Regions from separate parts of the Homo sapiens genome. Here all the other regions are linked to region 1. The links are contacts of gene promoters, found by promoter capture Hi-C in blood cells and fetal thymus (Javierre and others, 2016). All regions are on one chromosome and are shown on one strand. The core of a region is centred on a gene start or on the middle of the fragment in contact, and the rest is flanking DNA. Distances in the headings are between cores, read along the strand shown. Region 1 holds the start of ZDHHC5 (zDHHC palmitoyltransferase 5). Region 2 has its middle 23 kb from the start of CNTF. Region 3 has its middle 5.7 kb from the start of CNTF. Region 4 overlaps ZFP91 (ZFP91 zinc finger protein, atypical E3 ubiquitin ligase). Region 5 overlaps ZFP91 (ZFP91 zinc finger protein, atypical E3 ubiquitin ligase). Region 6 overlaps LPXN (leupaxin). Region 7 overlaps LPXN (leupaxin).

The links. Contacts are between HindIII fragments. The CHiCAGO score rates a contact against its expected background, and 5 or more counts as called.
Region 2: a contact is called between a fragment that was not itself captured here and the fragment with the promoter of ZDHHC5 in region 1, in 1 of 17 cell types (naive CD8 T cells). The highest score is 5.0, in naive CD8 T cells.
Region 3: a contact is called between a fragment that was not itself captured here and the fragment with the promoter of ZDHHC5 in region 1, in 7 of 17 cell types (naive CD8 T cells, total CD4 T cells, naive CD4 T cells and 4 more). The highest score is 15.0, in naive CD8 T cells.
Region 4: a fragment that was not itself captured here is called in contact with the fragment with the promoter of ZDHHC5 in region 1 in 8 of 17 cell types (naive CD4 T cells, naive CD8 T cells, total CD8 T cells and 5 more); the score reaches 13.3 in naive CD4 T cells.
Region 5: a fragment that was not itself captured here is called in contact with the fragment with the promoter of ZDHHC5 in region 1 in 3 of 17 cell types (total CD4 T cells, naive CD4 T cells and activated CD4 T cells); the score reaches 8.5 in total CD4 T cells.
Region 6: a fragment that was not itself captured here is called in contact with the fragment with the promoter of ZDHHC5 in region 1 in 13 of 17 cell types (naive CD8 T cells, total CD8 T cells, naive CD4 T cells and 10 more); the score reaches 22.0 in naive CD8 T cells.
Region 7: a contact is called between a fragment that was not itself captured here and the fragment with the promoter of ZDHHC5 in region 1, in 9 of 17 cell types (non-activated CD4 T cells, total CD4 T cells, naive CD8 T cells and 6 more). The highest score is 12.9, in non-activated CD4 T cells.

The regions. Positions count from the first base shown.
Region 1 is chr11:57,666,462-57,670,473 of GRCh38, forward strand. ZDHHC5 (zDHHC palmitoyltransferase 5) reads left to right here and starts at 1,653. Exons shown (of 12, transcript NM_015457.3): 1 at 1,653-1,726. RefSeq lists enhancers at 705-1,284, 1,454-2,093, 2,094-2,731, 2,285-2,354 and silencers at 1,485-1,724, 1,975-2,174. The HindIII fragment of the contact is 3,116 bases long and covers 1-2,243 here.
Region 2 is chr11:58,643,346-58,647,357 of GRCh38, forward strand. No RefSeq gene overlaps it. Among named protein-coding and RNA genes, the nearest start is that of CNTF, 23 kb to the left of the region's middle. The HindIII fragment of the contact is 3,137 bases long and covers 654-3,790 here.
Region 3 is chr11:58,626,363-58,630,374 of GRCh38, forward strand. No RefSeq gene overlaps it. Among named protein-coding and RNA genes, the nearest start is that of CNTF, 5.7 kb to the left of the region's middle. The HindIII fragment of the contact is 3,706 bases long and covers 225-3,930 here.
Region 4 is chr11:58,610,218-58,614,229 of GRCh38, forward strand. ZFP91 (ZFP91 zinc finger protein, atypical E3 ubiquitin ligase) reads left to right here. Exons shown (of 11, transcript NM_053023.5): 4 at 81-117; 5 at 733-837; 6 at 1,387-1,521; 7 at 2,061-2,111; 8 at 2,545-2,623; 9 at 4,012. It overlaps ZFP91-CNTF (ZFP91-CNTF readthrough (NMD candidate)), which reads left to right. Exons shown (of 13, transcript NR_024091.1): 4 at 81-117; 5 at 733-837; 6 at 1,387-1,521; 7 at 2,061-2,111; 8 at 2,545-2,623; 9 at 4,012. Among named protein-coding and RNA genes, the nearest start is that of CNTF, 10 kb to the right of the region's middle. The HindIII fragment of the contact is 1,495 bases long and covers 1,314-2,808 here.
Region 5 is chr11:58,592,787-58,596,798 of GRCh38, forward strand. The region is part of intron 2 of ZFP91 (ZFP91 zinc finger protein, atypical E3 ubiquitin ligase); the gene reads left to right. The region is part of intron 2 of ZFP91-CNTF (ZFP91-CNTF readthrough (NMD candidate)); the gene reads left to right. Among named protein-coding and RNA genes, the nearest start is that of ZFP91-CNTF, 16 kb to the left of the region's middle. The HindIII fragment of the contact is 3,157 bases long and covers 115-3,271 here.
Region 6 is chr11:58,567,857-58,571,868 of GRCh38, forward strand. LPXN (leupaxin) reads right to left here. Exons shown (of 9, transcript NM_004811.3): 2 at 2,700-2,857. Among named protein-coding and RNA genes, the nearest start is that of LPXN, 6.0 kb to the right of the region's middle. The HindIII fragment of the contact is 6,686 bases long and covers 1-4,012 here.
Region 7 is chr11:58,546,965-58,550,976 of GRCh38, forward strand. It overlaps LPXN (leupaxin), which reads right to left. Exons shown (of 9, transcript NM_004811.3): 6 at 3,009-3,182; 7 at 2,822-2,903. Among named protein-coding and RNA genes, the nearest start is that of LPXN, 27 kb to the right of the region's middle. The HindIII fragment of the contact is 2,737 bases long and covers 870-3,606 here.

The DNA.
Region 1 (4,012 bases), core at 403-2,902:
ATTACAGGTGTGAACCACCACGCCAGGCCAGGTCTGTTTTAAAAATATAAAGTCGTTATAAAGAACTCTCAAGTGTGTTGCAATAAATGCTGGATTGACGCTGTTAACAAGAATAAACTAGAACTTATAATATATGCCATGTCAGAGAAGGAACTAGATTCCAGAAAACAGAAGGTAGTTCTCTTTTACCTTACTGCCTAATGCTAGTGTCAGAACCACAGTAAAGCCAGCAACATTTGAGACCAAACCCGAGGACAGTCCTCAGGATTTTACAGGTGAGGGGCCTCGGCTTCAGGGAAGTGGCTTGTGAAACACCTTTTTGAGGGACCATTATGTAATAGCTAGAGTTGCTTTCGAAAAAAGAAATAGCCTCGAGCCGAATGGGGAGAGAACATGGGGCATTGCTATTGGGTTCACAGCTGTCTTGGGCTAATCAGGGCAAAGCGTAGCACTATGACCTATGCAGAGTTAGCTCGCCAGGGACAGTAGCTATTCTAGAGAACCTTTTGCTTTTAGCTTTGTATTCTAGGATTGGGTGAGGTGAGGGATGCGGGCGCCCATCCCACGTGTGACAGTGGGAAACTAATGGAATTCAGGGAGTTCACTTCCCGGCTCGCACTCCGGGGGCGGGAGGGTGCTGCCACCGCCTCAGGTCGCGCGCTCCTTAGGCTTCCCTCTCACGGTTAGCGCTACGGCTCCAAGGCTGGCGCCTGCTCTTCTTCATCTCCCTCCCCGGCCCTTGGCAGGAGCCTCGCCCTACATTGGCTCTTCAAGTCCGGGCGTCCCCTTCATGTGGGAGACACAGCCCAGACCATTCCATCGCCCTGGATTCTGCCCGGACCAGCGACCTCGCCGGACTGAAGATTTCTCCAGCAAGATTGTTTTAAATAAAGTTTTTGCCATCAAAAAAAAAAAAAAAAAAAAAAAAGGAGATGGGAAGGAGAAGAGGGAGGCCTAGTCGCCAAATGGTTGGCCAATCCGCCGCGAAGGGGCTGAAGCAGGAAGCGGCGATAGTCGTCGGTAATTGGCTGCGCTGGAAGCCTGTCTGGACTGTACCACCTCAGTAGGAGAGGGGTTGCTGAATTCGAGAAGGTAGCTGCTTGCTTTTGAGTACTTCTAGTACACACACATAATTCTTTTCTTATTTCCGGGGGTTTTTGCTTGGATTCAGTGGGAATACAACAGGACGCAGGAGAAGGGAAGACTCGCCTGGCCATTTCCTCATTCCTGACTCCTGTGCATTAGGCCAATCCTTGTCTCTTAGTTGTCCCCGCAACCCCACGGCCTTACGTGCGCGCTCTCGTCTTCTCGCGTGCGTACGTCGTTGTGTTGCTGCAGCCAATCAGGCCGCGAGGTCGCCGCGGTCGCCAGGGTTCGCGCGCACGCCCCAGATCGGAGTCGGGGTGGGGGCTATGGGTGAATGGGAGAGTGAGCGGGGTTGGGCGCGGCAGCGCGAGCCGCATGAATGAGACAAACGTGCGCCGCGCGAGACGTCGCGCGAGCCCGGACTAGGGAGCCAATGGGAACGCTGGAAGGGTTCGAGACCCGGCACTGAGGGCAACGGCCGCGCGCCGGCTCCGAGACGAGCGACGCCTGGCGGGAGCGCGCGGCAGCGGGGCGGGCGTGGAGCGTGCGGGGGCCGCGCGCTGCTTCTCTGAGGCAGGACGGCACTGCCGGGAGGCGGCGGTGACAACGACGGCGGTGGTGACGGGCACCGGGCTCGCGGGTGAGTGCGGAGGACACCGGTCCCTGCGGAACCGGAAGTGCCGTACCAGCGAGGTGGGAGGGGAGGGTGACCTCTAGGGAAGGGGGACCGAAGACGGGGAGGGTATTAAGGCCCTATTTCTCCTCCGGGCCGGGTCTTCCAACCGCGGCGGGACCCATGGGCCTTGGAAACGGACGACGAGTAGAGGCCGGGGATCCACGACCGCCAGGGCTCGGAACGGGTTAGAGACGGCCACTCAGCTCGAGACCGCGGTCCCCGGTGCCTGGCGCCCAGCCGCCGCCCCTTCCGCCCCCGGCCCTGCGCCCTCGGGCTCTGCGGTCCCCGCAGCCCGCTCTCTCAACCTCGGTGGGCCTGGCCGCCGTGGATTCCTTCTTTTCGGTTTCAGCGGTCGTCAGCCCTGCCCCAACGGGTGATTCTCCTTTCCCCAGTCCCGTGGTGGGGACCGGGTGCTGTTTCCCTTTTACCGCTCTGCGGTTCGAGTCCCTCGCTCCACTCTGCTGATACTTATTTTGGCTCAAGCTTCATCCTGTTACCTGTTCTCTCTCACCCGTCCGCTTCCTCCTCCTACCGCCACCAGCCGAGTGCTCCATGCGTTTAGTACTTTGTACTTTTTAAAGTGGAGCCCGAATGCGTTTGTCAATATTTTACCTATATTTGGGGCAGGCAGGTGGAAAGTGTTTTACCCACTTGGCCAAATGAAACACTGAAATAAGAAGTAAGAAAGTTGCTAAAAGTTAGGAAGGCAGTTGTAGGATCACATATACGTTATACGCTAGACTATTTTTTGCCTTGGATTCTTCACTTCCTGGTTAATGCCATCTTGACCAAGTTGATCTAACATTTGCATATCATCCTTCTATCTCAGTATACCTCTGTCCTGGATCAAATATCTTCAGAATGCTCATTATCACCCATTGTATAAACTTAATGTTTACAAAATTATATTGCCATGTATTTTGCTACCTCGGTATATAATGATAACACCCACATTAAACTTCTTGGCTCTTTCTCCCATACCTTGACATGTGAATTATTCCATGGTACCTCCATTACTGTGCATTTAGATTTACTCTATTGTACTGTTACACCGCTTATTTCAACAAAAAATAGTTGTGTTGTCCTTGGTACTGCTGGTATCCACCTATTTAAGGAAATACCTGTATTAAACCTTATTAAAGCCTTCAAACCACATATCCTGTATTGTTTGTTTTACATATACATATTTCCATTTCATAGTTTACTCTGTGCCTCAATATGGCATACATATTACTTTTTTTCTCATTTTTGAGACGGAGTCTGGCTCTGTCGCCCAGGCTGGAGTGCAGTGGCTGCTATCTTGGCTCACTGCAACTTCCACCTCCCGGGTTCAAGCGATTCTCGTGTCTCAGCCTCCCTAGTAGCTGGGATTTCAGGCATGCCCCATCACGCCCTGCTCATTTGTTTGTATTTTTAGTAGAGACAGGGTTTTGGTATGTTGGCCAGGCTGGTCTCGAACTCCTGACCTCAAATGATCCGCCCGCCTCGGCCTCCCAAAGTGCTGGGATTACAGGCGTGAGCCCCCGTGCCCAGCTGGCATACATATTCTTGTATACTTTTTTGATACTAGTATGGATTCAAACTGTTGACTCTGATGAACCATACTCACCCTTGTGGTTTCATCCTAGTATCTGCAGCACATTCTTTTGCTAAGAATTGGTTCATCTTTATTTATACCCAATAAATTGTTAGGTTTTTGATTTCCCTTCTACTGTGTAGCCCCCAAGCATCTCAGATGCTGTTCTCTTTTGTGTTCCCAGTATTATACTCCCAAAATTGCATGGCCTTTCATGACTCTGTATTACTATGTCAATATTAGTCCATGTGACTTTTTTCCTGTGGAAAATATATGAAACAATATATAGTATCTAAATGATATTCTACTCTAGATAAAATTTAAGTAGTATAATTTTCCATCTTTTCTAGTCTTTGGGATTTTGAGGGAAAAGTTTGCTTTAATAGTACATATTGGCTGGGCAGAGTGTCTCACACCTGTAATCCCAGCACTTTGGGTGAGGAGGCAGATCACCTGGAGGTCAGGAGTTCGAGACCAGCCTGGGCAACATGGTGAAACCCCATCTCTACTAAAAATACAAAATTAGCTGGGTGTGGTGGTGCCCTCCTGTAATCCCAGCTGCTCGGGAGGCTGAGACAGGAGAATTGCTTGAATCCGGGACTCGGAGGTTGCAGTGAGCTGAGATCACACCATGCACTTCAGCCTGGGTGACAGAGGGAAACTGTGTTTCAAAA
Region 2 (4,012 bases), core at 972-3,471, 980 kb after region 1:
TACATCAACGTGACATTACTATAACACTGTCTTCACTAGCATAACTTTACCATTCCAGTGACCGTTACATGGAAAAATGGCTCGATTATTCATTATAGGAATTTCCCAAAATATCCATCAACTCTTCAATGAAAAGTATCAACAGTTTTTACCTTTGAATCTCTTGCCTTGCCTTGCTTTTCCCACCAATCTTAAACTTCCATGTTGTGATTTTTGCCCTTTTCAAATCAAGACCTCCCCACTCTCTCCACGGAGGGAAGTGGCTTAAATGAAACTTAAATTCTCAATAAATTCTAACCTTGCTTTCTGAGATACTGCCAAATCTCTGCTGAAATGGTGTTTTCCCTATCTCATCAACAGTTTGTATTGATGATATTTGCGGAAATGGCATTTGACAGTCCCTAGAAAATTTTGTAGCACAGTTAGATTTGAGAATTCCTTGACAAAATTAAGTCCTAATTCTTGAGTTTAATGTTCAAGGTCGCCAGCAGTCTGACTGTTGCCTTGGTTTCAAATCAAATGTCCAATTAATCTCTTTTCCCTCTCTTTATTACACTTTATGCTTTCAAAACCTACACTATATTTATTTTTTGTTTTCTAATCTTATTTTTTACTGATGCTTTGTGTGTGTGATAACTTCATATATTCAAATAAGCTTTGAAGATCAAATTGGTGCAATTGGGATATCCATTACCTTAAACATTTATTTATGCTAGAAACATTTGAATTATTCTTTTCTCACTATTTTGAAATAAAGAATATATTATTGTATAGTCACCTCTCTGATGTATCAAGCACTGGGTCTTATTTCTTCTATCAAACTGTATATTTGTACCCATTAATCAACCTCTCTTCATTTTCCCTCCCTGCTTGTCTTCCCAACATCTGCTAAACACCAATCCACTCCCTATCATCATGAGATCCACTTTTTTTAGCTCCCACATATGAATAAGAATATGTGGTATTTATCTTTCTATGTTTGACTTATTTCACTTAACATAATGACCTCTAGTTCCATTCGTGTGGCTGCAAATGACAGAATTTTATTCTTTTTCATAGATGAATAATATTCCATTCTATATATATATATATATATATATATATATATATATATATATATATACCACATTTTCTTTATCCATTCATCCATTGATGGGAACTTAGGTTGATTCCATATTTTTGCTATTGTGAATAGCACGGATCTCTAGGGCAGGAGCAAAATGCTGCCAGTCTCTTTGCTAAAGCACAGCAAGAATCACCTTTGTTCCAATTCCCAGTAAGTTCCTCATTTCCATCTGAGACCGTCTCAGCCTGGACTTTGTTGTTTATATCACTATCAGCATTTTGGTCAAAATCATTCAACAAGCCTCTAGGAAGTTCCAAACTTTCCCACATCTTCCTATCTTCTTCTGAGCTCTCCAAACTGTTTCAATCTCTTCCTGTTACCCAGTTCCAAAGTTGCTTTCACATTTTTGGGTATCTTAATAGCAGTACTCCACTTTACCAGTACCAATTTACTGTATTAGTCCATTTTCATACTGCTATGAAGAAATACCAGAGACTGGGTAATTTATAAAGAAAAAGGGGCTTAATAGACTCACAGTTCCATGTGGCTGGGGAGAAATTCAAGCTGGCTTATTCACTATCATGAGACTTATTCACTATCATGAGAACAGCACAGGAAAAACCTGACCCCATAATTTAGTTACTTCTCACTGGGTCCCTCCCATGACACATGGGGATTATGGGAACTACAATTCAAGATGAGACTTGGGTGGGGACACAGCCAAACCATATCATTCCACTGCTGACCCCTTCCAAATCTCATGTCCTCACATTTCAAAACCAATCATGCCTTCTCAACAGTCCCCCGAAGTCTTAACTCATTTCAGCATTGACTCAAAAGTCCACAATCCAGTCTCATCTGAGACAAGGCAAGTCCCTTCCACTTATGAGCCTGTAAAATCAAAAGCAAGTCAGTTACTTTCCAGATACAGTGGGGTACAGGCATTGGGTAAATACACCCATTCCAAATGGGAGAAACTGGACAAAACAAAGGGGCCACAGGCCTCATGCAATTTTGAAATCCAATAGGAGAGTCATTGAAGTTCCAAAATGATCTCCTTTGACTACATGTCTCACATCCAGGTTGCACTGATGTAAGAAATAGGCTCCCATGGTCTTGGGCAGCTCCACCTCTGTGGTTTTGCAGGGTATAGCCCCTGATCCTGGCTGCTTTTACAGGCTGGCATGGAGTGTCTGCAGCTTTTCCAGGTGCACAGCGCAAGCTGTTAGTGGATCTACCATTCTGGGATCTGGAGAAGGATGGTGGTCCTCTTCTCACAGGTCTACTAGGCAGTACTCCAGTAGAGACTCTGTGTGGGGCCTCCAACCCCACATTTACATTCTGCACTGCCCCAGTAGAGGTTCTCCATGAGGGCTCTGCCCCTGTAGCACACCTCTGCCTGGACATCCAGGCATTTTCATACATCCTCTGAAATCTAGGGAGAGGTTCCCAAACCTCAGTTTTTAACTTCTGTGCACCCACAGGGCCAACACCATATGTAAGCTACCAAGGCTTGGGGCTTGCACCCTCTGAAGCAATGGCCAGAGCTGTACATTGGTTTTTTTAGCCACAGATGGGACACAGAGCACCAAGTCCTGAGACTGTACAAAGCAGAAAGGCCCAGGGCTTAGCACACAAGACCATTTTTTCCTCCTAGCTCTCCAGGCCTGTGATGGGAGGGGCTGCCATGAAGACTTCTGACATACCCTGGAGGCATTTTCCCCATTGTCTTGGCAATTAACATTTGGATCCTTGATACTTATGCAAATTTGCAAATTTCTGCAGCCAGCTTGAATTTCTCCTCAGAAAATGAGTTTTTCTTTTCTATCACATTGTCAGGCTGTAAATTTCCCAAACTTTTATGCTCAGCTTCCCTTTAAGACACAAGTTTCAATTTCAAACCATGTCTCTGTGAATGAATAAAACTCAATGCTTTTAAGAATACCCAAGTCACCTCTTGAATGCTTTGCTGCTTAGAAATTTCTTCTTTCTCTGGTGCCTCCTTGATTAGCTTAATAATCAATGTTCTGATTTCTTTTTCTGGCAATTCAGAGATTTCTTCTTGGTTTGGATCCATTGCTGGTGTGCTAGTGTTATATTTTGGGGGTGTTAAAGTACTTTGCTTTTTCATATTACCAGAATTGTTTTTCTGATTCCTTCTTATTTTGGTAGACTGTGTCAGAGGAATGCTATGGGGCTCAAGGATACTCTTCAGATTCTTTTGTCCCAAGGGGGTGATCCCTTGAAGCCCTTCCACTAGGGATGGGGCTTCCTGAGAGGTGGACTGCAGTGATTGTTATTGTTATTCTGGACCTAGCCACCTAGAAGAGCTACTGGGCTTCATGCTGGTACTGGGGAGTGTCTGCAACTTGTCCTGTGATGTGATCTGTCTTCAGGTCTCTCAGCTGTGGATACCAGCACCTGCTCTGGTGGAGGTAGCTGGGGAGCGAGGTGGACTCTGTGTGGGACCTTGATTATAGTTTTATTTAGTGCACTGTTTGTTTGAAATGCTAGTTAATGTAGCAGTGAAGTTGTCACATGGACAGACTCAGGACCTCTGGTTAGCCAGGATGTTACAGGTGATAGAATTAGCTGTTGTTTTCTCCTTTCTTAGAGCAGGGTTGTTCTTTTTTGAGTTTCTGTAATGGCTTGAGTTTGTTGGCCTCCAACCAGGAGGTGGTGCTTTCAAGAGAGCTTCAGCTGCAGTGGTATAGAGAGAATACAAGCTTGCCCTAAGGTATTCAGATTTCTTGGGTGATGGGTGGGGCCACAGAGCTCCCAAAAGATTATGACTTTTGTCTTTAGCTACCATAGTGGTTAGTGAAAGACCATCAGGTGGGGGCAGTGTTAGGCCTGTCTGAGCTCAGACTCTCTTTGGCTGGGGATTGCTGCAGCTGCTGTGGGGGATGAAGGTGTGGTTCTCAGGCCAATGGGGTTATGTTCCCA
Region 3 (4,012 bases), core at 828-3,327, 960 kb after region 1:
ACACACACACACACACATAGTCGAAATTATAAGTCCCAGGTTTGTTAGGAAGCTAAAGGAAGGAGAGGGGCCCAAAGTAGTTTCCCGGAGGAGGTAGGAGTTGTGTCTCAGTACAAAACTACAAAATACTCTGTACTGGTTGAGTACAAAAGAGAAGTCATGAGAGAAGGGAAGAGGTGATCATTTGTAATTTTGGCACTGAATGTATAGTCTTATTCCATTCAAGCTTTCTCTTAATTCTGCTTAACAGCAGCATTCTCAAATAATAAAATTTCTGCTTATTAATATGAAGCTCTTAGAGCTATCTGGATAATACTTCTGTTCAATGGAGAAATATGTCTACAATTTCTTAATGGGGAATAACTGACTATGAATTTGCTGCATCTAAAATGACCCCATCAATTATACATGTAAAAATAAATTTTTGAAATTTTTTAAATAAAAAATTAAAAGATGTTGCCCCCATACTCCCTCCATCAAAAATGTTTTTAAAAAATGAGTGTCCCCTCTCCAAGTGTTTTTATGTTCAGCAGGTACAGCAGCAGACATCTGCAGAAGTTTCAGAACTCAGTGGAGCTTGGCTTAAGCTCTCATGAGTTGCATGTAAAGGAATATGTATGTATAAGAGGCGGATTTGAAGTGGCAGAGGGTCCACAAAAGGCACAAGTACTAACCACTGAATGGGAGGAGATAGAAAAATGTGTAAGTCACAATTAAGTCACAGAATCACCAAGTCTTTACCAAGTGCATTGTCAGCACTTTGCAAAACGCTGTGTACTTGTCTTTCAGGAAGCATACAATATGCACCCAAAAGAAGTGTGGGGAAAGCTAATCTTAGAAAAAGATAAAGGGGAAATGAGCAGTAGACCATGCAACAAAAATCAACATGTATGAGATCTGAATGTGTAGACATTGCATCATGTTTATTTGAAATGGATAAATAGAAAAAGGGACTGAATGGATTAGTATTCTAGATGTGTGCCTTATAGTAAAGAAGAGGATAACGATGACACTATGGAATTACGTTTTTTTAGGAATATAGAACCCCAAGAAGATTTTGTTCATTAGGTTTTATTCTGTTGATCTGATATGGATAAGATCTCTGGGAAATCATATATGGTATAACTATATAGATTGAATTATAGTTTAAGGTACATAGATTTAGTTTCTAGCCCTAACTCATTTTGTAAAAACAATTTCTTCTGCCTCCTTTTCAGAGAGTACCTTCTGAAAAGTCCTCTGTGGGTAAAGAGATCTTGTTTTCCTGAGTCAAGGAATTGCATGGATGAGAGTTTTTCTTGCATTCATGTAAGAGGGTGATTTGGAAAAGGCTCGCAAATCAGCACAAACTTGAAAGCCAAGCATGGAATAAAATTAGCCTTAAGATAATCAGGTTTAAGTGAAGGGAGAGTTTTAATAAAAATGGAAAATGTAAAGTCATAGCTCTGGTATTGCTGTTATTTCAAGCTGCTATGGATCAATGCCCAAAGGATGACTCATTGTTGTGATCACTTGTCAGACAGGGAGAGGACTAGTAAATATTTCAGGAAGACATATCTGAAAAGTTATTTAGATTGAATTTTGTTTGTGAATCCTCAGCTCCTCATGAGGTACCTGAGCATCTCTGTTAAGGGGTGAAATAGAGACACGGGAAGCAGAGAGACCTCCACCAGGATGTAAAGGGGATTGGTAAAGAGGAAGGGGGTAGGGGGGAGTAGAATTTTGATTTCACTTCAGTTGATTCTGTGTGTGTGTGTGTGTGTGTGTGTGTGTGTGTGTGTGTGCGCGCGCGCGCGTGTGTGACTAATGTACTGTTAATGTACTGTTTAGGTCAGGACATTTCTTAAAAGGAATGCTTTGGCCTCCTGCCTCATCCCACCTCCACTGCAAGCGTCAGACCCACCCAAGAATGAGCTCTCTGAATGTGGGTGCATTCAAAAGCGAAAAATGATAAAAACTTCATTTCTTGGCTTCTGTAGCCCTCTGAGAACTACAGATAAAGACAGAATAAGATAATTTGATGGTTTGATGAAGTGTCTGGGTGTGAGATAAAATCTATGTGCTTATGATTCTTAATATAAAAGATTATTTCGATCAATCTGGTTTGAACACATAGAAAACAAAAGATGCAAGAATAGCTAACAATAAAGTTCTTTTCTCAGCAATACCATAAGTTACTTCTTTTCTGTATCTTTGGATGAATGAGGGGAATTTCAAGTGACTTCAGCATTGGATGAAGCATAATCCTCCTAGCCAGGGCCAGGCCCAATCAAGCGTGCTGAGTAAATCTCCATGGTGCCAGGCCACTCACACTGGGCAAAACTCCCAGGGCCAGTCAGCCTAGAAAAGGTAGATTGCCCCTATATCACCAGGCCAATGCTTTGCCCTCTGAATACGTAGTCCTATCAGCTAGACTGCAGATGAGAATGATTTCCTTTTATATGGCTTAATTGCAAGTAGCTGACCACCCCCCCCCCCCCATTAAGCCTTTGACTTCAAGAGAAGAACCCTGACTAGCCCATTTTTAGTCAGGTTGGAGGTAGAAACCAAATTGTTGAAAATCACATAGAGGAAAATATGAAACAGTTACTGAGAGATTCTGTATTTCTATCCACATATTTAAGGTAGTATGAAAGGGAATAATGTAACATGTCAGGCAGCTCTGCATTATTTTATATTATTTAATCCTCTGACATATCTCTTAGATGAGGAAAATGAGAATGAGCATTAACTTGCCCAAATTTCCTCCTCTAGCACCTGACAGGGCTGGAGTCTTAATTCTGGCTCTAAAGCTCACTTCACTACATCTTGTGCCATAGGACATCTGGTAATCAAAATTCTCTTATTCTGAAATCCATTCTCTGTCTCTAATCCACTCTCCTTGGCTAAAGCCAATACAGGCTTGTACAGAATTTTGCTTTGTAACGAAGTCTATATAAGTTTCTAAACTTTCAGACAAGTCACTCTTTTTTCTGAGCTTCCTCATTTGTGAAATGAAAATGATGAAAAATAGCTAACTACACAGTTGTTATAGACAAATTGAGTATCTGAAATTACTTGTAACTGACATGCAGACATCATCAGGTATATTTAATGCCTCAGGTAGCTTGGATTCAGAGTTGATTGAGGAGCAAGCTCCTAAGTATCTCAGAGAATACCACCTGCTTACCAGGAATGATCTGGCCACAGCCTCAACTTCACCCTATTGTGCCTATTGGCCTTTGGCCACTGGAGGTTGACCCAGCAGTCTCACTCACAGCCTCCAGGAATCATCCACTTCCCTGGAGAGTTACAACCCAGGCCATTCACCCAGGAGGCAGCTTTCACGGTAGGCATGGTCAGACAAGTCCTGGAGAAGCCTGGTAGGCTCCAGAGGGAGCCAAGGAAACATGCCGTCTAAGGAGCTGCCCAGGATACATTAAAGCATGCGTTTAGACTTAGAATCATCCCACCGTACGCCTACACCCTCCTGTTAATACCAGAAGGAACTCAAACTTCATTTAGTTCAATCCCTTCGTTAAACATAACATGAAGAAGCCAAAGAGGTTCAGCAATTTGCCCTGACATCCCAGCTAAAAAGTGGCAGAATGAGACCTACAGTCCATGGATCCCCTGGCTGCACTTTCCTGCTTCTCCATCAAACCAACCTCATTTTAGGAAACATCTGGTCTTTCTTGCTCTCTTGTATGCAGCGCCCTCTAGCTCCCTCAACTCTAATAATCCTTTAGAAGCTCTAGGAACAGCACCTCATCCAGACTTCTTTTGCCACTCCAACCCCCACCTCTACTATAATTTGAGGGTGCTATATTTCATCCTTCCCCTGATATGATGGGGGAAAGATGTGGCCCATTCTGAGGAATGCATTCTGAGTAATGGCTAAATATGTTACTCATTTCAGGGTAAGTGTCGTTTGAACAAGGCACTCAGGGAAGCTTTTTAAAAATAATATTCTGGGCCGGGCATGGTGGCTCACACCTGTAATCCCAGCACTTTGGGAGGCCAAGGTGGGTGG
Region 4 (4,012 bases), core at 811-3,310, 940 kb after region 1:
GATTTGCATTTCTTGACTGCAGAGAGAAAATATCTTATATCTACACTAATAAAATTTTGTTTTTGGCTTTGTTTTTCTAGATGTTGGAGAAGAGCATCAGTCTCCAGGTGGCATTAGGTAAAAAAAACATTAATATTTCATTTTTAAACCTTTGGGGACATAGCATAGTCACAGTAAATGATTCAGAAGTTGCTTCCATTTGAAATTATTTTGAGCTGTAAGAGAAATTAACTTCAGTTTTGATACTGCATTTAGATTCCATGTTGAGCTTGATTAGAACTTAAACCATGTAATCTACTTACATAGCTTAGAAATCATGTCTTGAGTATCTTCTGTGTTTGGACTTATTCCATGGTAGGCACTAATGTGAAATATGGGTGTTTTGGCCAAGGTTTTGAGATTTTATTGGAATCTTTTGTGTTGTGATTTATCTGTTAGTAGGTCTTTTAATATAGCAGATCACCAGACAGTATTACAAAGTCAGTTGTTTCTTAACTTTTAATGCCATTGAGTTGTCATCACCCTGTCTTTATCTAGGATTTATGTCTTTTTAGTTTCAATTATTATTCTTTGTGATAAAACAGCTAGATTTCAGTCCAATTAGGTCATTAGGATGAAAATGCTAGATGACTTTATCAGTGTTTGGCTACCTCTTAAAAAATTACCAAATAAAATCCCCTCAGACATGTTCGCTACAACCAGAATGTCTCATTTCTATTTACTTATTTTTAGTAGTGAAGAGGAAGAGGAGGAGGAAGAAGAGATGTTAATCAGTGAAGAGGAGATACCATTCAAAGATGATCCAAGAGATGAGACCTACAAACCCCACTTAGAAAGGCATGTCTCAGATTTTACTGCAGACATGTTAATGAAATATAAGTAGGAAAGCACTGTTGCATGCTTTTATTTTATCTGTTGCCAAGCTAATGGGTATAGAATTAATTTTAAATGAGTAATTAATTATGCACTTCTTTTGTAAGTCTAACACCTTAATATACCCTGATAATAATCCTCTTTCCCATTTGTAGAACTTTATTTTGATTATATACAAGTTTTTATGAGTCTGCATGTTTTATTTCAACAAGGTATCATGAATTGCCTGAATACTTAGAATTTTTTAACTAATTGTCTCGTTTCTCTTTACAATTATAGTGAAATTTGATTTACAGGCATCTTTAGTCTGGGGAGGGTTCATTCCATGAGCAACATATACATATATTTGGATCATTACTATGCATGTGAGGATGATTGGTAGGAAATCACATTTCATGAACTGAGGAAGGTAGTTTTATAACAAATCAGTGATAACTCTAAGCTTTAATTTGTTGTCATAGTCTTCCTTGAAAAGATCTTTTGTCTAGTATTGAAATGCATTTGTGTTTTCAGGGAAACCCCAAAGCCACGGAGAAAATCAGGGAAGGTAAAAGAAGAGAAGGAGAAGAAGGAAATTAAAGTGGAAGTAGAGGTGGAGGTGAAAGAAGAGGAGAATGAAATTAGAGAGGATGAGGAACCTCCAAGGAAGTGAGTAGGCAATTATTAAAAATGAAAATCTAACAGATTTTGAACGACTAGTGGAAAAAAGAGTGGGAGTGTGAGGAAGGATGTTGACGTATACATGCTTCAAAATATGTATTTTTTAACTTAAAAAAATTTGGCCTCAAGCAGCTGACAATTTCACTGGAGAGACTCTTAGTAAAAAAATGTTTAGGTTTTTCAGTTCTATTGCAAGGAGAAGGTATTTTTTAATCTTAGTGTTTTTAGATGATACATGGTAGCAACTCTAAAAGTAATACATTGAGATTCTTCTAAGTCTTTCATAGTATTGCATAGTTTATGGAAGGTATATATTTAATCTGTCTTACAGACTGATTTGAAAGTGAAATTACTTCAGGGTAAAATTACTTGCTTGATTTGCCAGATATATCTTTGACTTTATGTATTCTTGGTTATCCTTTGCCACTTGTTCTTTGGCCGTGTGTGTGTGTGTGTGTCTTCAGCCAGCCTTCACTGTGTAGTTTTGATTCAGAATATGTCTACTGTTACCCTGTCTTCAATTACAGGAGAGGAAGAAGACGAAAAGATGACAAAAGTCCACGTTTACCCAAAAGGAGGTGAGGAATTTTTACCCCTACTGTTTTACACCTTATTCCAGTACCAGGCACTTTACTCACAAATTTAGACTTCATGATAATCCTGCAGGAATGGCTATTTAAAAATTTCACAAAAGCAACTTCACTAATGTCCTAGATGCACAGGTGTTATGATCTTATTTTCATTGTAAGAGCTTGAAATTTCTAACAATCTTAATACTTTACCTTTGGGGGGTCATTAGTTTATTTGTGTTACTTTTTAATTCTGTCAAATATTTGCTAATTCTTGGTTACTTCTAATACAAATTCTGTGTAATCTGTATAGTAGTAAAGAGATTTTAATTCTTCCTACTATAAAATAGCTATTCCCAATAGCACAGTTTAAGTCAGAGGCCACTGTGCAGAGTACCACTTTTTTTTTTTTGCTAACTTTTCTTCTGCATTTTGATAATAGAAAAAAGCCTCCAATCCAGTATGTCCGTTGTGAGATGGAAGGATGTGGAACTGTCCTTGCCCATCCTCGCTATTTGCAGGTCAGTGAAGTTGTTATATAAGAGCCTTTCAGGTTGTGTTCCATTACTTGTTCTTGCACCACGAGACTTTAATTTGTTGGCTTGTGTAGGCTTTATCATTGACATGTAATGTCAAGAAAAGTCTTTCTTTAAACATAAAATGACTTTAACCCATTTATGCCTAGTGTTCCATTATTAGAATGCTAAGCTTGGGCAAGTTATTTATATCCTACTGTTCAAGGTCATCACCAAGGTCTGATTTTTCACAAAAATACATTTGCAACCTCCAGCATAAATGGGTTAATCATGATTAGTCCATTTGTGCTGCTATAATAGAGTACCTGAGACTGGGTAATTTACAAAGAACATATATTTATTTATTAGCTTGTGGTTCTGGAGACTGGAAAGTCCAAAAGCATGGTGCCCACATCTCACAAGAGCCTTTTAACTGTGTCAGCCCATGGTGGAAGGGCAAGAATGGGTTGAACTTGCTTTTGTAACAAATCTACTCCAATGATAATATCAACCCATTTATATAAGGGTAGAGCCTTTAAGACCTAAGCACCTCCCATTAGGTCCCGCCTTCCAACACTATCACATTGGGGATTAAGTTTCCAACACATGAACTGTGGTGAACACATCCAAATTCATAGCACCTCCTGTTTAAAAAGAGGTGACTAAGAATCTGAACCCACATAGAGAACTTTCGTTGGAATCTTTCAATATTACAGTAATTCCCAATGTGGTGTAAATACAGAGTAACATTTTATTTTAAAGTGATTTAGAAAAAAAGTAAAATTAGAACTCAAACCTGTGATTTCTTGGGTACTGTGTAGAATGAATAAAAGACTTTTAGTTGAGGTTTTGTTTTTATTTTTCTTGAGTAGATTATTATTATTATTTTTGATGAGTAAACGTACCACTTATATTTAGGTCTGGCAGGAAACGTGAAAGTGAAATACTGCTTAGGAAATACCTGTTTGATCTTCAGCAACAAATATAACATGACACGAAGGCCTTCTTCTGGATCGTGGTTCAGTTATAACAATAGCCGCTCCTCCTCTGCTGTGTGCCATTTGCTGCTCTAAAGCACAGTACAATACATAATCTCTTATCCCCATAACAACACTTTGAGATGGTTATTGTTACCTCCATTTTACAAATGAGAACTGGAGCTTGAAATATTTGTCTCCTAAGATTACAAAGGCTAGTGAATGACAGACCCAGATTGGAAACCAGGTCTGTGTATTTCCACCTATGTTCTTAGCCACTTTATTATACTCCCTCACTATCCATGTGTGAAATCTAAGTATTTGGTTTTCCTTCAGTACTTTTGACTTAGCAAAGACAAGTACTTTCAGGAAGCCTTAATTTTTTTTTTTTCGCCCCTTTCACTTTCTCTGTTTTAGC
Region 5 (4,012 bases), core at 443-2,942, 930 kb after region 1:
GGAATATGTGAGACTGAATGATTTGTAAAGAAAAGAGTTTTTTCTGACTCATGGTTCTGCAGGCTGTACAAGCATGGCACCAGCATCAGCTAGACTTCTGGTGAGGCCCCTGGAAGCTTTCGCTTGTGGTGGAAGGTGGAGGTGGAGCAGGTGTGTCACAGAGTGAGAGCGAGAGAGAGGGGAGGAGGGGCTAGGCTCTTAAACAACCAGGTCTCACATGAAGCAATAGAGAACTCACCTATTACCACAGGGATGGCACCAAGCCATTCATGAGGGATCCACCCCCATTACACAAACACCTCCCACATCCAATATTAGGGATCACATTTCAACATGAGATTTGAAGAGGACAAACATCCAAACTATATCACACTGCACGGTGACCACAGTTAATAATAATGTATTACATATTTCACAGTTGCTAAGTTGGTGTGTGTTCTATTGTTTTGAATGAAACTCTAAGTTTATCTGTCTGTCCCCAGCAGCCACCAGATGCTCAGAGAGCACCAGCAGGTGATGAAACTGCATGGGTCCCCTTATCAACACTGTATACTTAGGCTACAATAAATTTATACACAAATATTTTTCTCTGCTCTTTCCTTTTCTTAAACGTGTTCTCAATATTAGTGCTACGCTTGTATATGTCTTTCATGCCCCAGAAAAAGTGATATGAACAGAACAAGATTGTACTGTGGTTGTTTTTAATATATTTTTTAATGCAAAACTGCTGCTGGAAGAGAGAAATCAATGAATAAGCCAGATGTTGGGGATAGCCAAAAACAACACATTTCATAAATATTGAAAATGATCCATTTTATATGAACCAAGCTAAATCTAGACAATAATAGTTTGTTTTTATGTGCTGACAATTCCCAATTTTATGTTTGTAGCCCGCCCTGTCCTTTGAACTTTAGGCCTGTTGATGTTTTACTCAGCAGTAATCTCAGACTTGGTCAAAGCAGAACACATATTCTCTCTAGTGTCTCTTCAAGAAACAAAAAACCCTGATCTTTTTCTTTGTTTTCATCATCAGTCCAATTGTTCAAGTCAGAAATCTAGAATCCCAAATCCTTGGCATCTCCCTCTATCCCTGTTAAGTTATTCTCTAGTCCTGTCTCGTCTGTTTCCTAAGTATTTCTTATATCTCTAATTCTTTCCATATTCAGTGGTATTACCCTCTTTAAAGCCATTATTATCTGTTGCCTGGCATATTGGAGTAGGTTTTTAGCTGGTTACCTAGCATCTACTCTTGCCCCTACCTAGCTCATTGTCTAGCCTGCAGCCAACATGAACATTAAAAATGCAAATCTGATCATGTCACCGTTCTGTTTAAACTCTGTCTGTGGCTATTAGGATAAGATTCAAAATCCTGGAAGGACCTTGTTAGACTTTTTTATGCCTCCTCGGCATGATAAATGATGGGTTTTGTCATGTTTTCTCTGCTGCAGTCATGTTTATCTTCTTTCTTTCAATTCTCAAGACATGTACATGTACTCGTTTCTCCTGCCCCTTCTTTATCAGCTAGCTACCACTTATTTATTCTTCAGAGTTCACCATATTTATTTAAACTTAAATGTTGAGCTAATTCTTAGCTATAGAGATCATTAAGTTAATAAGCACTAGTTTTAAGAGCTGTGTTTTCAGAGAAACCATCCTTTCACCTTCTCAAACTTATGTCTGAGCAAAGTCTTAATGTTTTTAAGAAGCAGAACTAATTCACCTAATGCCTATACTTTGAACTTTGATGACATTACTTTGTGATTCTATTTTTGTTTTGCTCCAAAATTTTAATATCTGCAGAAATTCTGTGAAAGCCTAATATTTTTTATCCTTTCTGTCAGTGCACCAGTGGCTGATGTCTGCTTTGAAATCAGTAAGCCAGGAAAAAACATATGTAGATGGAGTAAACAGAGATGACTAGAATAAGAAAGAAAAATCTAGGCATTAATACACAGTGTTGATTTAAAAATGAGTAAACTGTTTTGGAATGTAAACATTCTAAATTTCTTAAATACAATTTTAAAATCTCATTTATTTTCCGGTTTTTAATCACAATAAAATTTCTCTAGTTCTGTTTTGAAACATAAGGAAATACAGCATGTGGCTTTAGGTTAAAAATTCACTCATGGAATAATTCTTACAGGTGTTTCAGGTTAGTATATTATATAAATGGGGCCCTCTTGGCACTTGAATCCAAGGCTGGGTGGAAATGAGCCAAATCTGGATTGAGCCCTTGCCGTGGTGCTTTCCATTTCTCGTTTATATGGTTAGGTGTGGTATAGTAGAAAGAATATAGACTGGACTTAGATATACCCGTGTTCAGTTCCCTCAGCAGCTTTTAATATGTGCACTTGGGAAAGTCAGTTACTTGGTTTCTTCATCTATGAAGATAAGAATAATAAATACTTGATAGGGTTATAACTGATTTTTGAGAAATGAAAAAAATATATATTACCTAGCAGTTAATACTTAAGATTTGTTAATTGCCCAGAAGAAATTTAAATACTTAAAGAGAGATTTGAAGACCTTTACCTTTAGTATCTTCCCAGCTTATCAACTAACCACACCCTGTTTCACCCTACAATAAAATAATAGCATTGATTATGTTAGAATGGCCCTTCTAACTTAAAGTATTTTATCATGACCAAGTGGCTCTCATCTTTTGGAATTTGATGGTTTGACTTGTTATAATAATTATCTCTGGCTGTAGGATTGAGATAAATCATATTTCATTGTCTGCTATCTAGAAGAATTAGAAGAAAACATTCCTGCCAGTAGTATCAATCTTTTTTTTTTTTTTTTTGGTTTTGAGACGGGGTCGTACTTTGTTGCCCAGGCTGGAATGCAGTGGTGCGATCTCAACTCACTGCAACCTCTGCCTCCTGGGTTCAAGCAGTTCTCTTGTCTTGACCTCCTGAGTAGCTGGGACTGGTGTGCGCCACCACCGGCCTGGCTAATTTTTGTATTTTTAGTAGAGACAGGGTTTCATCATGTTGGCGAGGCTGGTCTGGAACTCCTGACCTCAAGTGACCTACCCATCTCCACCTCCCAAAGTGCTGGGTATAGGCTTGAGCCAGCACGCCTGGCCTAGCATTAATCTCTTATTGTCTCAACTCATAGTATAAACCACTCTTACTTCATACCTTCTTTCAAGAATGTACAGTTGGCCCTTGAACAACATGGTAGGGTTAGGGGCACCACCTCCCCCTCACAAACAAAAACCTGCATTTAACTTCCCAGAAACTTTACTAATAGCCTGCTGTTGACCAGAAGCTTTATCAATAACATAAAGTCAACTAATTCATATTTTATATGTGTATTATATCCTGTATTCTTACAGTAAAATAATCTGGAGAGAAGAAAATTTATTTAAAAAAACCATAAGGAAGAGAATATATTTACTATTCATTAAGTGTAAGTGGATCGTTATAAGGTCTTTGTCCTCTTCTTCACATTGAGTAGGCTAAGGAGGAGGAAGAAGAAGAATCGTTACTCTTATCTCAGGGGGTGACAGAGGTAGAAGGAGTGGCAGGAACATTTGGCGTAGCTTTACAGAAATACAATTTCTGCCTGACTTCTTTTTTGCTTTTTCGTTTCTCTACAAATGTTTCTACACTTTAACCATTTGCTTTAGTTTCAGGGCAGATATCATAGAAGGGTTCCTGTCATAAAAGGAAGTCAAAAGCAGTCTTGAATAATTGGAACCTTTCTGCCAGAATTTCTAAGTTTTTAATGTTAGTTTGTTTTCTGGCATTGCTGCTTATATGTTGTCTTTCTGATCGTCTGGCCCCTGTTCAAAAGCACTCATCTTCATCATGTCATCTTGTTACTTCCTCTTGTGTGGTGTCTGTTTGCACCTGAATTTATCCAAGATGCTTATTTTTAAAGGCTTCACCATCACCACCCCACCACCACCTTTTTTTTTTTTTTGCCATATTCACAATCTCTTTCATGATTTCCTTGATTGGCTCTGCCATAAATCCTGTGAAGTCATGCACAACATCTGGACACA
Region 6 (4,012 bases), core at 976-3,475, 900 kb after region 1:
CAAAAGGCATTACCATATAATAAAACAAATAGAGCTTCACATATACAAATAATAACAAAACTGCTTTAATAAAACAATTAGGTTACACTATACTCTATGGCAAAATTACTTAGCCTCTATTTCCTAAACATAATTTGTATGACATTAAGCCACAATTTCTCCCATTTTCTACTGACTCTGAGGAGGTTCCACGCATCTCACAGGCCACCCACCACACGACCACATGAGGGCATGAGTGGTGGTTCACAAAGTGGCCAGCAGGGGGAAAAGCCTCAGAAATTCTTCTGCTACCACCTAAGATCAGAAGAGGTACTTGTGCTTGAGCTCTTAGCTTTAACAGGCAGCACCCTGCATATAATTCTTGAAAGGTTGCTGCTAGCTAGGTTTCATCTGAACAGAATCAAGAAAAAAGACAAGTTATCATTAGCCATCTTTTGCATTTAACCATAATTAAGTCAGAATTTGGCTGGGGACAGTGGCTCGTGCTTGTAATCCCAGCACTTTGGGAAGCTGAGGCAGGCAAATCACCTGAGGTCAGGAGTACAAGACCAGCCTAGTCAACATGGTGAAATCCTGTCTCTACTAAAAATACAAAAATTAGCTGCGCATGGTGGTGCATGCCTGTAGTCCCAGATACTCAGGAGGCTGAGGCAGGAGAATCACTTGAACCTGGGAGGCAGAGGTGGCAGTGAGCCAAGATTGCACCACTGCACTCCAGCCTGCACGACAGAAAGAGACTCCATCTCAAAAAAAAAAAAAAGAGCACTGTTCACTGAATATGTGTTTCATACGCTGCTAGATGAGACCATGGAAGAAGCTGGAAGGAGGTCTGTTAAGCCATAGTGGCTTACTTAATGCAAATACTGATAAGAAAACTTTAAATAAAATTGAAGATCTGGGGTAAAAAGTAAAGTTAATAGGATGTGAGAAAAACAAGCATAAACCCAGGACTCTTTCAGGTAAACCAGGATATATGGTCACCCCAGAAAGATCAACATGAAACTATGGCTTTTACTCCAAATGAGATGGGAGTCATTTTGGGGTTTTGAGTAGAAGAATGACAGGGTCTGACTTTAGTTTTTAAAGGTGACCCTGGCTGCTTGAGAACAGACTGCAGTGGGGCAAAGGGCAGGAGACCACTTAGGAGCCTACAGCTATAATCTAACACTGAGAACAAAGACAATAGTTCCCTAGTAGAGAGATAAATTCGTATCGTTAAAATTGTGTATGTGTCTGGAGAAAAGAACAGTTAGGGCGTAAACTACCCCTGAGCTCAAATTTCAGGTCTGTGCTTCTGGCTATTTCATACAGGGAACAATGATGAATCAAAATATCATAGTACAAAATTACCAGCTATGAAGAGCATCTACTTAATTCATCTTACACTAATTCCATTCTCATCAAGCAACCTTTTAATTATAATGTACGTCCATATAGACTTATCCATAGGAAGAGAATGCATATATGAGTAAATATAGCTGTTTTACTTGATAGCTTTAACTGTAAATTTGATTTCTGAGTTTTGTTTTTTTTTTGTTTGTTTGTTTTTTGAGACAAGCTCTCATTCTGTCGCCCAGGCTGGGATGGAGTGGCGCAATCATAGCTCACTGCAGCCTCGACCACCTGGGCTTAAGCAATCCTCCTGCTTCAGCCACCTGAGTGGCGGGGACCATAGGCACGCACCACCACACCCTGCTCATTTTTTAATTTTTCGTAGAGATGGGGGTCTCACCATATGGCCCAGGCTGGTCTCAAACTCCTGGCTTCAAGTGATCCCCCCGCCTCAGCCTTCCAAAGTGCTGAAATTACAGGCCTGAGCCACTGCACCTGCCCTAGGTTTTTAAAATATATATATAATCACTTGTCAATTTGGTTAGTTTGAGTTGGTTCCCTAGAGCTTCATCATCTCTATATAAACTAATAATTGAATCTCCTAATCTATTCAGCAGAAAATAAGACCTGGGAAGTAGTGACCCTAAAAAGTCACCCTGAGAAGACTTGTCTATGCTGCCACCTGGCCTTCCTCAGGTGATCTCTGGCCTGAGTACCATTCCAGTCAAACTGCAACAGGCATCTCTGATGCCCCCACAGTAACATCAGAATATCCCCAGTGAATGCAATACTCTGCCTGTGACCATGTGCTCATTAGAAAAAATGTAGTTCTCGGCTGGGCGTGATGGCTCATGCCTGTAATCCCAGCAATTTGGGAGGCCAAGGCGGGTGAATCACCTCAGGTCAGGAGTTTGAGACCAGCCTGGCCAACATGACAAAACCCGTCTCTACTAAAAATACAAAAATTAGCTGGGCATGGTGGTGCGTGCCTGTAATCCTAGCTATTTGGGAGGCTGAAGCAGGAGAATCGCTTGAACCTGGGAGGTGAAGGTTGCAGTGAGCCGAGATTGTGCCACTGCACTCCAGCCTTGGAGACAGAGTGTGACTCTGTCTCAAAAAATAAAAAAAAAATAAAAAAAATAAAAAAAATAAAAAAAATTTAGTTCTCAAAAACTCATTCCTCTGTGATGATTTTCTCAATTCTCTTCCTCTTTCCAAAAACATCTTTAGATTAACATTGAGGCATTATTTTTTCTCTTTCTTGGATATATTATTCTCCTTTCATATTATTTTATGTGGGATTCTGTTAATTTTCAGAAATGCACTCAAACATCCATGTTTAAGGACTATAATAAATGAAAATTTACCGGCAAGGGACTTGTGTTATCCTGAATAGAAAGGATCTCCGAAGTCTCATCAAGGTTAGTCTCCTTTCTGGAATGCTGATCCAGGGGAAGAGGAGCTGGGTTGGAATATTCATCACTGTCCTGAAGGGTGGAGCGTTCCAGTTCCTCCAATAAGGCATCTACACCATAAGAAGCAAGAGAATCATGACAGAGAATATTTAAATCCCTACAGTCATTTTCTCCTTAAATATCTTCACTGTGCCCACATTCATCTCCTTTTCTTCAATTATGGCTATTTTCAAATACTTTCCCTTATTCCTTATTTCACTTCAAGAATGTGGTGAATCCTACCAAGAAATGTTTAACACCTCCATAAATTGTGGTTTGTTTCTTATTTTCTATGGTTGCATTCAATTTCATAGTCTCATGCTATAATTTGATTTTTTATACCACAGGTATTAATTTTCATCATTCATTTAGGGTAGATTCCCCACAAATATCCTTAATTAGAAAAAAATAAAACTGGGCTGGGTATAGTGGCTTATGCCCATAATCTTAGCACTTTGGAAGGCTGAGGCGGGAGGATCCCTTGAGCCTAGGAGTTCCAGACCAGGGCAACATAGCAAAATCCAGTCTGTATGAAAAATACAAAAAAGTCAGCCCAGCATGGTGATGCACACCTGTGGTCCCAGCTACTTGGGAGGCTGAGGTGGGAGGATCACCTGAGCCTAGGTGAGCCTGCGATGAGTCGAGATCACGCCACCACACTCCAGCAGCCTGGGCCAAAGGAGTGATACCCTGTCTCAAAAAATAAATAAATAAATAAATAAATAAATAAATAAATAAATCCTAAATGCTTTTTTCTATCAGAAAAATAGAAGCAATTATATTACCATTTTTCAAAACATACGAGGGAAATAACACTTATTCTTAATCCTAATGATATTTTTTCTTAAATCTTAACAATTATCCTGAGCACGTAACAAAATTTTCAAAGCAAGGTATAAGTATCCTGTCTTTTAGGGTGTGGAGAGAAAAAATGGTTGGGGATAAAACTGAGATATTGCAAAATCAAGTAAGATGTTGCAATTTAAATAGTTGGGATTTGTTACTCTTTCAGTTTTTTTTCTTTTTTTTTTTTTGGAAAAGTATTATATACTAGTATCTATCTGTTACAATGAAATAAATAATAATTAATAAAAATTAACACATGCCAGGCACTGTGCTCAGGAGTTTACACATTTCATTTAATCATCCTAACACTTTGAGGCAGATGATATTATTGTCCTTATTTTGTAGATCACAAGAAAGAGACAAAAATAATTTGCTTAAGC
Region 7 (4,012 bases), core at 988-3,487, 880 kb after region 1:
ACCACCAAGAAAGATGAGGTATAGTTCTTGATAACCTCAGGTTAAAAGAGGGACTTCACTGGGACGACTCAGAGAGTTGGATATGTGTGCCTTGGCATTAGTGAGATGCAGTTAGTGGTATCAGAGTTACCCCTGGAAAAAGTCCATAGATGAGTCTGGCTGAAAGAGCCTATGGCAGCTGAATAGAAACATGCAGCTAAAAATTATAACTCCACTGGCTGTCAGAGAAAAGAGTAAGTTATCCATGGTCCTTCTATGAAAATATGAGAGGAAGAGATTATCTGGAACGATGTTAATAATTTCTAAGGGTTCACTAGGAGGGAACAATGAAAGCCCCTTGAAAAAAGAATCTTTACAAAACAAATCCTCAAAGAAACATGACAAGGAGAGAATAGCTAGTCAAGACACGTAAAGGGCAATCAAGAGTTCACTGCTGGACCTGTCTTAATCCCGAAAAGAATTCAGGGAAAAAAGTCAGAGCTAAACACTGGCTGAGCCTGGAGAGCATAAAGCCAATTTAACAACAATCCTAGACAAGTTAGACCTTCCTGCCTTCTATTCTCATCTCCATCCTCCCTAGTGTTTCAACCCTAGAGCAGGCAGGTGTCAAGGCTGGCAATAAGGGTGAGGGTGGTAGATAACAAAGCGAGGTCAGGAGAGAGGAAAGGCCATACCCCTGTCCTCGCCTCCTGCAGCTTGAAGGTCCTAAAAAAGAGAGGGAGTGGCTGTCACTTTTAAAGTGCTGGAAGCCTTAACTATTACACAGACTGAATTACCTAATGGCTTAGTTTTTGTGTTTTGTTTCTTAAATTGATTTTATATTTAGAACTGTTTTTTAACAGTAATCAGAAAAGACAGAGGACTGCACAAGCTTTTATTTATGAGAGGAGAAATCCTTCCCCACTGAGTTCATTCTAAAAGGACAGGAGAAAAACAAAGTAAAGCAGCTTTCTGATTCCATATTTGTTCAAAACAAACATAAAAAGGAGAAATTAAAAAAAACAAGACAATTCAGAAAACACATGAAACAAACATACAAAGGGGGAAGAATGGGTCATGTAGAAAGGATCAAGGATAAAAAAAATTTAATAAAAACTTGCCAATCATGGAAGCTAGAAGACAGTGAAGCAATGTCTTCAGAATTATGAAGGAAAATAGTTTCCACTTAGAATTCTATGCCCAGGCAACTTAAGGGCAATGACAGAATAAAAATATTTTCAGATATTCAAGTTCTCAAAAATTCTTTCTCAGAAAGCTACTAGGGGATGTTCCCCACCAAAATAAAGGTGGTAACATGTATAAAACATAGACATGGGACCCAGGAAACAGAGCATCCAAAGAGGAAACTAATAAAAGGAATTTCCAAGAGTAATTACTAGATATAATTCTAAGTTAATGAACCAGAATGACTGCTACTCAGCAGGAAGAAATCATTTCATGTTGAATCAGGAGGAGGAAAGTCTCCTGGAGGGATATCTCCAGAAAAAAAAAAAAGAAAAGAAAGAAACTGACTTGTTGCCAGATGTAGTTGGCCATTTTGAAAAGAATTTCACAGTTCTGTTGCATAACTTAGTGATAAGTACAATAAAAACTAAGCCAATTTCAAAAAGGATTCAAATGTTAACTTTAGAAAAAAATGAATTTATACCAAAAGGACACTGTGATAATAATATTAACACTACTATACCTCCATGTGCTTGGCACTATTCTAAATACCACGCTTGTATTGTCTCTAAATCCTCATAACAACCCTATAAGGTAGGCAATTTCATTAGGACTATTTTACTGATGAGGAAAGTAAGGTACAGAGATGTTAAATGACTTGAACAAATACCACAACCCAGATTTGAACCTGGAAGTCTGACTCTAAAATCCAGACTCTAGTGTAGTCAGTTTGCTACATGGCTTACTTGTGAGCAGTATTCTATGATTGTCAACATATGCACACTTAATACTGATCTAACCTGTAATTATGACATAATTATATATTGAAAAAACAGGGGAGGGGAAATATGTTAGGAGTGAGTGGGGTAATAATAACATTTCTAAACCTCATCTTCCCTCTTAGACAGTCAATACATAATGGTTAAAACTGGAAAAATAAAACAATCTATAACAATATAAAGTTATTATTTAAAACACATAAGCAGGCCAGGCGCAGTAGTTCATGCCTGTAATGCCAGCACTTTGGGAGGCCAAGGCGGGCGGATCACGAGGTCAGGAGTTCAAGACCAGCCTGGCCAATATGGTGAAACATTGTCCCTACTAAAAATACAAAAATTAACCGGGTGTGGTGGCAAGTGCCTGTAGTCCCAGCTACTTGGGAGGCTGAGGCAGGAGAATCGCTTGAACCCAGGAGGTGGAGGTTGCAGTGGGCGGAGATCGCACCAGAGATCGCACCACTGCACTCCAGCCTGGGCAACACAGTGAGACTCCGTCTCAAAAAAACAAACAACAACAACAACAAAAAATAAGTAAATATCAGAAGAAACAGCTAAAATAATTTGGAGAGGAGAACTGGATTTGGAGATGAGAAAGGGACTTTTTCAATATTCAACAAGAAAAGGCTTTTTCAATATTACCCTTGAAGTAATATTTGAGTTTTTAAACTATGCATTTGTATTTCTGTGATTTAAAAAATCAATTTAAAGGGAAATTATAAATGTTGGAGAAAGGTAGGGAGGGATGGTATCTAGTACTGAAATGGGCACTTTGATAGTACTGATAGGAACCAGGACTCCCGTGACTACCAGGAAAGGTGTTGCTGGTCTTATAACTACCCACTGGGGTGTGGGATACAGCCTCTCAAGTCGGGTCATACCTTCTGCACCAAACACCTCTCCGCAGTGAGAGCAGAAGAAGTGCTCTGGGTGCCAGGTCTGGTTCATTGCTGTCAGCACTTTCTGGAAAGGGAACACACAGATATTATAATGATGCAGAAGTTGTAAAGCATGACTCTGGTTCTAAGTGAGTGACTGAAAGCTGGAGAGGAGCGGGGATTTACTTACATCCAGGATGGGAGCAGCGCAGTAAGCACAGCGTGGAGAAAAAAGTTGGTGGTAGTCGTTGGGGCAGTAGGCCAAGCCACTCCGCTCAAAGAAGGGACTGGAGCCAATCTCTTCTTTGCAATGAGTACAGACAAAATGCTCAGGATGCCATGATTGCCCTAGAGCATGGATCACCTGTGGAGTGAAATAAAGCCTGACACAGGAGGCCAGTTGAGTGCTCTACAGCCTACAGGTTGCACAACTCTAGGGAGCACTCTTCACATTGTACCCCTTGTAGACAACACGCCCTGGAATTATACAACACTGAGGCCTAGACCTAGGTTCCACCTAAGGCCATCTGTGGTCTGTGCTTTATGGATTGATAATAAAAGGATGCCCACTTCCGGGACTGATCACTGTGATGAAAGCCTGTAAATGTTCACAACCACTGCACTGCCACAGGGGGTGGCAGAAACAACATATAGCACATTGATGACAGAGAAGTTGTAACTGTAGCCTTAGTGTGGAAGGGACCCCTGGAAGAGGAAAAGGCCAAATGACAGTTTTTATTCCTCTAGTTTGAACACTTTATTCCACGCCCCATGCAGTCAGGTCTCAAAGCTTTTTATCATAGCTTCGGTGAAGGACGATGCAGAACAGGAGTTTGCAGCTGTGACTTGGAGCTGAGTTCAGCTGAAAATTGTAATCAATCAATTTAGACTGGGAATGTGTGAACAAAGGGAGCAGTGAGAAAGGTCATCTCAGTAAAGGCAGTACAGAAAAATGGTCAAGAACTCAAACTCAGGAGACAGTCTCCTGGTTTCAGATCTTACCTCTACCTCTTATTATGCCTTGGATATGTCCATTAATGTCTCTGAGTCCTCAGTTTCCTCATCTTTACAAAGGGAGCAATCATTCTTCTTGAAGGGCTGATGTGACCATTAAATGAGGAAATACTTGTAAAGCACTTAGCTCAGTGGCCAGAGCACTGTAAGTGATTAGTAATTATTAATGCTAACTAAAAT